Linked DNA regions of Homo sapiens: region 2 is linked to region 1. The links are contacts of gene promoters, found by promoter capture Hi-C in human tissues and cell types (Jung and others, 2019). All regions are on one chromosome and are shown on one strand. Each heading gives the region's core, a stretch centred on a gene start or on the middle of the fragment in contact. The rest is flanking DNA. Distances are from core to core; before and after follow the strand shown.

Region 1 (4,125 bases), core at 659-3,158:
TAAATTCCTTCAATAATGGCTGCTAAACAATTATTTACATGTGAATTCTCCAAAATAACTACAGAAGAGCCAAAGGGTAAAACAATCAAATTCCAGTTCCACCTCCCTAAGAAACCTTCCCCAGCAAGGCTAGTCTTCACAGCTGGATATAATTCTATAGGTTAGCTTTTAAATAGCTCATGACTACTGCTTTTCCCATCTGGATTACAAACTTTCCATTGACAATATGGCAAAAACGATGAGGAACAAGGCCTTTGAAGTTGGTCAGATTTGGGTTCGAGCTCTGCACTTGCTGTGTGTCTTGTGGAGAGTTACCCAATTTTTCTTTATTATTATTATTATTATTATTATTATACTTTAAGTTTTAGGGTACATGTGCACAATGTGCAGGTTAGTTACATATGTAAGAGTTACCCAATTTTTCTAAGCCTCTGTTTCCTCACTTATAAATCAGGGATACTAACACTATGGACCTCATGAAATTATAGTGAGAATTAAAAGAGAGAATGCGTGGAAAGTGCTTGGGTACAACAAATGGTCAGTAAATGTCAGTTTTCCTCCTTTTGTCTTTTAGGCACTAATGATGCCTTACAATTATTTTTTCCTTAATTTCCTTCAAGACCCATCACGGGAACAAAGAATTCAACGAATATTCACTATTAGATACAATCACACACATATATTGACTGACTGTTTACCTCTCTATTAACCAAGAGTCATTGAAAGCTCTGAACACCTACGGTCACTGAAATAAGAGATTGAAGACTGACGTAGAAACCAAGCCTCCTGACCTCTCCCCTGTACCACCATCTCTGACTGACCAGGCAGAGTGTATTACGCCCTCGAGAAGCACACAGTTGATCCCAAGGAGCAAAGAGAGTGTGTGTGTGTGTGTGTGTGTGTGTGTATCTAGACTCGTGTCTAGATTTGTGTGACTGTGTCTCGACTCTGTGTGTGTGTTTAGACTCCATATCATCAGTTGAAGAAAGTTTTCACGTTTTGACTCAAGACATTTCTCAATATCTCTTTACAGACTAAACAGAATGCCCTTATCTAACTGATTTGAACAGAGAAGTGAACCTCAGTCCCAGCACAGTTCACCCACAAACACATGCTCGGTATATGGCTCACCACTTAAATACAAAGATCCGATGGGCCTCACCACCTCAGAGGGCAGGGGATAATGATGGGGGAAGGACGAGGTGGGGTATGTGGGTGCGTCCTGCTGTAACAGGAAGACCCCAGCATACACAGAATGCCATACTGCAAAGGGAGTCTGGCTTTGAGGAGGGGATGATGAACGCCTGGAGGGCCGCGGGGAACTAGGGACCCAGGCCCCTGAGAGTCAGCGTGCGGCCAGCTAAAACCCGCGGCATCCCGGCGCTGCCACCACCGCCACCCACGCCACCCACCAGTGCAGGCTCCATACTCTTGGAAAGAAGGGGCCCGCGGATGCCTGAAGTCTCCACTTGGCCCAGTTCCTTACATGGTGTACCCAGGGGAGGCCGGGGAGGTCAGGGCCCGTAGCCATCCGTAGATCCCGGGGCGGCCGCGCACCGGCATATGGGAGCGCGCCACGGTCTTGCAGCGCGCCCTGGGCGGCCCGATGCAGCCGCCATCCCTCGGCCGAGGCCCACACCTACCCATGGGCCAGATCCCCGGGCCCCGGCACCTGCTCCGGCAGCGTCCCCGCTCCAGCGGCCCGGCGCTCACGCCCCTCGCGCTTGAGCCTGGGCGCGCAACAGCTTCCGCAGAGACGCGGGCGCCTAGCCATCCCCGCCGCTCGCCGCGTACCTTCCTCACCACCGCCGCCTTCGCCCCCTGGCACTACCGCGGGTCCGCACTCCACGCCGGGCTGATTCCGGCGCTCGCTCACTCTCTTTTTTCTTCCGTCCACGTCCCGCACGATGACGTTACGTCAGTGGCGTAAGAGTAAACCTGGGCAGCCGGCCCTACGCTGTTGACGTGGGGCGAGGGCCTGTCCTGGAGCTGCGGCGCGGCAATGGCGTAGGCCCCTTTCGAGAATCAAGCCAGCGCTCCACGTGGCGGGCCAGCCCACCAGGCCCCGGCAGCCTGGAAGAGGCGGGACTCGAGTTCAGGGGGAACGCCCACGTCCCGGGAGGGGACAGGGGCCGGAGACAGGGGCGAAGACACCTTCGAAACGCCGCCCCACTGGGCCTTCCAGGGAGGTAGAAGAGGTGCCTGGCACCCTCAGCTGCTGGTAGATTTCATAAGGTGTGTTTGTCAATGTTAACCATTTATATCCCGGGCACACCTCGGAAATAGGTTGGATCAACTTACATATGTTTGTTACTTCAGGCACATCCTGGGAATAGATTGGATCAGTTTACACACATTTGCAAACTTTGGCTCCTTAAATGGAAGCATTTTGGCACTGCAATCAAATTACTTGCCCCCTAGTCATCTGGAGGTTTCCCCAATGGTCCCATCTCAACTCCCTTTCATCAAAGGCAGTTGTAAGAATATTGCATTTTAAAATAGGATATTCAATCTATGACAACTAGAACTATTCCAAAGGTGAATGCAGACTCACCTTTAAAGAGAGACCACAAAAACCTGGCACTGTGGTGTGTGCCTGTAGTCCCAGCTACTCGTAGGTGGAGGCAGGAGAACCACCTGAGCCCAGGAGTTCAAATCCAGCCTGGACAACACAGCAAGACCCCACCTCTTAAAAAGAAAAAGAAAAAAAGTGAAAACACAGATTTTTCTCCCTCTTTCCTTGCTGTATTTTGCTCAAAGGACACATTCCTGCATAGGCACATAGTGCTGGGTGGTGGGAGGGCAGCACTTGATAGGAGGTTGGGCACAGAAAGGCATCATGCCCTTCTGTCGTCCCTGATAACACTACTAAGCCTATTTATTCATTTTCTTGTTTATTAAACACTGGCTACTGCTATGGTCTGAATATGTCCCCCAAAATTCATATGTTGGAAACTTAATTCCCAATGCAAGAATATTGGGAGGTGGGGCCTAATGGGAGGCATTTGGGTCAAGAGTGCTCCACCTTTATGAATAGAGTGACCCTCATGAATAGATTAATGCTGCTATCAAAAGGTTTGTGGAGGTGGGTGTTCTCTTCTGCTCTTCTGCCCTTCCACCACGTGAGGATACAGCAAGAAAGCCCTCACCAGATGCTGGCACCTTGATCTTGGACTTCCTAGCCTCTAGAACTGTGAGAAATAAATTTCTATTATTTAAAAATTATCCAGTCTGTGTTATTGTGTTTTAGCAGCACAAAATGGACTGAGACAGCCAAGCATTCCCTGGGTGTGGAAGAAGACATAGCTGAGTTCACAGCCTTATGGAAGAGAGAGATATATGAGCAAATAATTACAATACCATGTGATGAATACTAAAGAATGGGATGGCCAGACATTCAGGGATGGCTGAAATGGTTTGACTTTGTGTCCCCACCCAAATCTCACCTTGAATTGTAATTCCCATAATCCCCACCTATGGAGGGTGGGACCTGATGGGAGGTGATTGGATCATGGGACTGTTTCCCCCATGCTGTTCTTGTGATAGTGAGTTCTTATGAGATCTGGTGGTTTTATAAGGGACTCTTCCCCCTTCACTGGTTTGCTTTCTCCTGCCTGCCACCATGTAAGACTTGCCTCTTCCCCTTCCACCATGATTGTAAGTTTCCTGAAACCTCCCCAGCCATGTGAAACTGTGAATCATCTAAATCTCTTTTCTTTATAAATTACCCAGTCTTGGGTATGTCTTTGTAACAGTGTGAAAACAGACTAATACAATGGCTTTAAAAAGAGTTGATATTCAAATTGTGCTTTGAAGCACTAGAAGTAAGGAGTTTACCTAAAAGAGGAGAGGAGTACAGGATCATATGAGGAAGAGGGAATAAGGGAATGATATATGCAGAGGTGTGAGACACCCCGTGAAAAGAGGCTACTTGCAGTAGGACATGACAGGAGAGGGGTCTGGCTGGTATCCTAAACTTACAAAGGGTTTTTTGTGGTATGCTAAAGATTTTGAATTTTATAATCCTTAAAAACAGAGAAACATGACTTTTTAAGTGCTGGAATGGTATGATCCGATTTTTGTGCCAGAAATCAGTAAAGACGCCTAGAGCTGGAATGTTGGTTA
Region 2 (3,915 bases), core at 674-3,173, 220 kb before region 1:
AGGGGTTTGTGCTCAAACCCTAGCCTGGCCTCATCCACCAGCATGTGCCCTGGCACCTGTTATGGGTAGCTGGGAAGGAAGAAAATCAGTTTCCAGGATGCTAGGTCTGGCCATTTCCATCCTACATATCATATCTGTCTTATCACAACACACCACTCCCGCTGCACCAGAGGGGTCTGCATACCCTACTGCCTAGCCTCTCTGGTCCCAAGGGAATGGTCCTCCCCTCCATTCCATTTCTCCCTCCCTTTCCTTCAAGAAAGCAAGCTCCCATCCCCTACAGCAGCAGCTCTCAGATGCAGTCCTTGCACTAGCAGCATCAGCATGAACCTGTCAGAAATGTGAACCTTCAGACCCTACCTCAGACCTGCAAGTGGGAACCCTACATTCTAAAACTCCAGGCTGGGGCCCAGCAACCTACCTTTTTACTCCAAGTGATTCTGATGCAGCTAAAGTGTGAAAGTCACTGCCCTACAGAGTGGAGAGGTGCTGTCTCACCCTAAACTAACTGTGCCTGATCTCAAAGTCAGCATTTGCCAACTACCAGAATACTTGGGCTGTGCAAAGTCGTCCCTGGAGAGGCCAAAATAATCTAATCATAATCAAATAGCAGCTAACATCTAACAGTCTATTCCATGCCACCAGGCATGATACACAGCACTTCATACACTTCTTCCTCACAATAATCCTGAGGCAGATGCAATTATCAACCCCATTCTACAGTTCATCAGGGTTGAGAGACAGTGAATAACTCGACCAAAGTTGCACAGCTGACAGGTGGTGGGGACAGGGTGTGCACAGAGATCTACCCGGTTCTGAAGTCCCAGTTCTAAACCTCAATACCTCAGGTTTCCCAAGTGATGGGTTAAGGTGGGGAGATGGGCTTCATGTGGCTTCTTTGATCTCCCTTTGCTCCTAGTTTACACTGGGCCTTTGAGCTACTTTCCTGATCCTGCTCCCGCAGCTGGCTAGTGGCCAATCCCAGGCCTGAGCCCTCCCCACCTCTGCTTTTCCAGGAGCAAGATCATTGAGTCATCCACACTTCTCAGTCTCCCCTGGCTGCACCTCCAGCCCAGCCTGGACAGGTCACAGTGAACCTCTAGGAAGCAGGGATGAGCTCTGAGAAGCCCAACCTCTAGCCCATCGCACCGCTTACTTACCCCCCATGCCCTAAGCTATTTCAGTCTGCATGAGAGCAGTCTGCAGAGCACTGGCTGTGGTCACAGGATGACCTGCTCAGTCAAAGCTAACATAAAGTGTGGTTATTGCTGTGCCTTCATCTGCAGCATGTGACTGTCAGTTTGAGGCTTTGACCACTACCCATCCAAATGATTTGACTGTCCCAGGGGACCGTAAGAGACACACACACACACACACACACCCCCCCCCCCCAAGAGGTATCTGATGAACTCACACCCTCCTGAGCAAAAACACCAGAGCCTCCTCCCGCCCTTCCCACGTGGCTTTGAACAGCTTTCCCTAGCTTCCGCGCACCTGGTTTGCTTTCGTGTTGCCGGGTTTCCTGAGGGCTCGCAGGGCTACTGCTTGGGGTTTCCCTGTAGGAAGACGAGGCCCGGAGAGTCACCGCTCCCTTCCCAGTGCAGATTTTTGTAAGATCCATGTCTGAAAAGAAAAGGTCCAAAATTGAAGACTGAATCCAAGACTCCTGAAGGATTAAAGGACAGTTGGTTAGCAAATTGTTACAGCCGGGGAATGAGATGAACCTGGTTACAGCCATGCGAAGTCTTTGAACACCTGTGGTCAATGAAATTAATCTGTGGGTGGTGGAGAGGGGCAAGTTTTCAGAGGTTTACTGTGCATCATGAAGTTAGGGGAACATGGCGGCAATGGTGAGTTCTGAGTAAATGGATGAGTTATACTATCAGCTGAAAACATTTCAAAATGAAAGCAGGTTTATTCCTTTTATTAAATGAAGTTTAGGTTGATGAGCAGACTTCTGACCAGTTAGTAAGGCACAGTTCAAGAAAGAGTTTATGAAAGATGTTTCAAGCTTCCAGACCATACTTCTCATTGAAGACCAGGCTGGCAACTACGGAAGTGGGGGCGGTGGGGGGGGTGGGGGCGGGTGGTCCCATGGAGAACAACTACCCCTTTGCAGTTTTCCAGTGGGAAAAGGAAAAGCAAATCTCCTTGGATCAGCAAGTCAAGACTCCCAAAATGCTGAGACAGAAGGATATGCTGCCTGGCGAGAAAGCTCACGAGTGACAGTCTCACTTTCCAAACATAACAAAGAAAACTCACAGCAACAAAAACGACTCAGAAGGCTAAATCCTTCAATGAGCAGTGTCCACCGAGCCTCAGCTGTCTTCACAGGGTCCTGGCGTCTCCTACAGTTTCACTAGGGCCTAATAACAGACCCAGGTCAACTTTTAGAGTTTCCTTGAGAAAGATTTCAAAATACGCTTCAAAAGATCTGAATGCCATCCTGCAGGAAATCAGTCACGGAGGCAGGGAACCAGGGCAGACCACACAGTTCTGGGAGGCACACGCAGAGTGTTTCTTTATGTGCAGCTGAGCTATGCAGAACGCCACAGTTTTGTTTTGTTTTCAAATTGCTCACAGCCTAGATCCCTGACCTAAAATTGTCACAGTTAGGATTACAGGTTGACATTCAGGGTGTGTGTCTGGGCAGGATGTGAGTTCAAACATCCAGCTCATCCCCATTCCCCTCCGAGGGCAGAGAGAAGCAAAGCCTCTTCTTTCCTTTCCTTCCACGCCAGCAGCCCCCTGCCAACAACTCAGGGAGAATGATCATTAGCGTTAGACAAGAGAATGGACCTGCCTCGTCAGCACCTCTTGTATTGAACGCAATGCACGAAACGCACAATGTGTCAGGGCAAGCATCAGCCTTGGAGAGCATCTGACTTATCCAACTCTATCAAGAGGCTAAGCGACTGATGTCACCAAACTATTGGGAAAACTGGTTCATAGTCACTTCAAAAGGATGAGAGGCACACTGATGGATGCAGCCCATCCATAGGTTCCTGGACACACAGCCCAGTTACTTCTGAAAGCGCCATTGGATAAAGTACTGTGTAGGCCTCATGTGTCCCCACTTTGTACAGAAGGAAGCGATGAGCCAGAGCTGACATCTGAACTGTACTCCCCCACCCTCTGGAGGGGAGAGGCAGGAAGTGGCTGCAGGTAAAACTGGGGAAGGCAAAGGGGATGCTCTGGGATGGCCCGGTGAGCATCAGAGGCGAATCTAGGTTGGGCACCTAAGGGCAGCTGCTTCAAATTCAGCTAAGTTCAGAGGTTCTCTGTGAGACCAGGTTAATTCTCAGGGAGACTGCAGTTTTTGCTAAAGTACTGGGGGCTGGAAACCTCTAGGGAGAGCCTAGGATGTCCATGCACCGCAGACCCATCCCAAAGGGAAAGCTGAGCCTCTGGACTGACCCTTCTCCTAAAGAAAAGAGGGGCAAGGCCTCTGTCCTCAGTTCCTCCCCACATTCGCTGGCTCTCAGGAAAACGCACACAGACATTCACATACACAGAGGAAGTAAGGAAGCAAGCTGAGGAAGTGAGACGGAATGCCTCCTAAACATGCAACGATTCAGCTCAAAGTGCGTGTTAGAAGAAAAGAAGAAAGGAAAACCATGCCATGATCCGCTCACAGTTAGAGAAAATCGACCGACCCAAGGAGATACCTGTAGGGAGAACTAGGCCTGAGGCGTTTTTCACTGTCTTCACAGGAATGATTTTAACAGCAGAAATAGAGCGTGCGCGTAAAGGGTCGGCAGTTGCTGAAAACACAAAAGGGTAAATGGTGCATCCAGAAAGAACATTTGGGAAACACTCAGGCAGTTGAGGAACTGGGCAGGGACAATAGGAGGAAGTCGCCCACACAACAAGAACAATACAAAGGGCAGTAGATGCAGTAATTAAAAATAACCT

The links. The method cuts DNA at HindIII sites, captures the fragments that hold promoters and counts their contacts. A contact is called where the count stands out against the background at its distance.
Region 2: a fragment that was not itself captured here is called in contact with the fragment with the promoter of ALDH18A1 in region 1 in 1 of the 25 tissues and cell types used here (H1 embryonic stem cells).

What each region holds. Positions count from the first base shown.
Region 1 is chr10:95,654,803-95,658,927 of GRCh38, forward strand. ALDH18A1 (aldehyde dehydrogenase 18 family member A1) reads right to left here and starts at 1,909. Exons shown (of 18, transcript NM_002860.4): 1 at 1,795-1,909. RefSeq lists a silencer at 1,646-1,755. The HindIII fragment of the contact is 17,710 bases long and covers 1-4,125 here.
Region 2 is chr10:95,430,954-95,434,868 of GRCh38, forward strand. SORBS1 (sorbin and SH3 domain containing 1) reads right to left here. Exons shown (of 33, transcript NM_001034954.3): 5 at 3,669-3,764; 6 at 1,495-1,623. Among named protein-coding and RNA genes, the nearest start is that of SORBS1, 130 kb to the right of the region's middle. RefSeq lists an enhancer at 1-18. The HindIII fragment of the contact is 5,522 bases long and covers 1-3,915 here.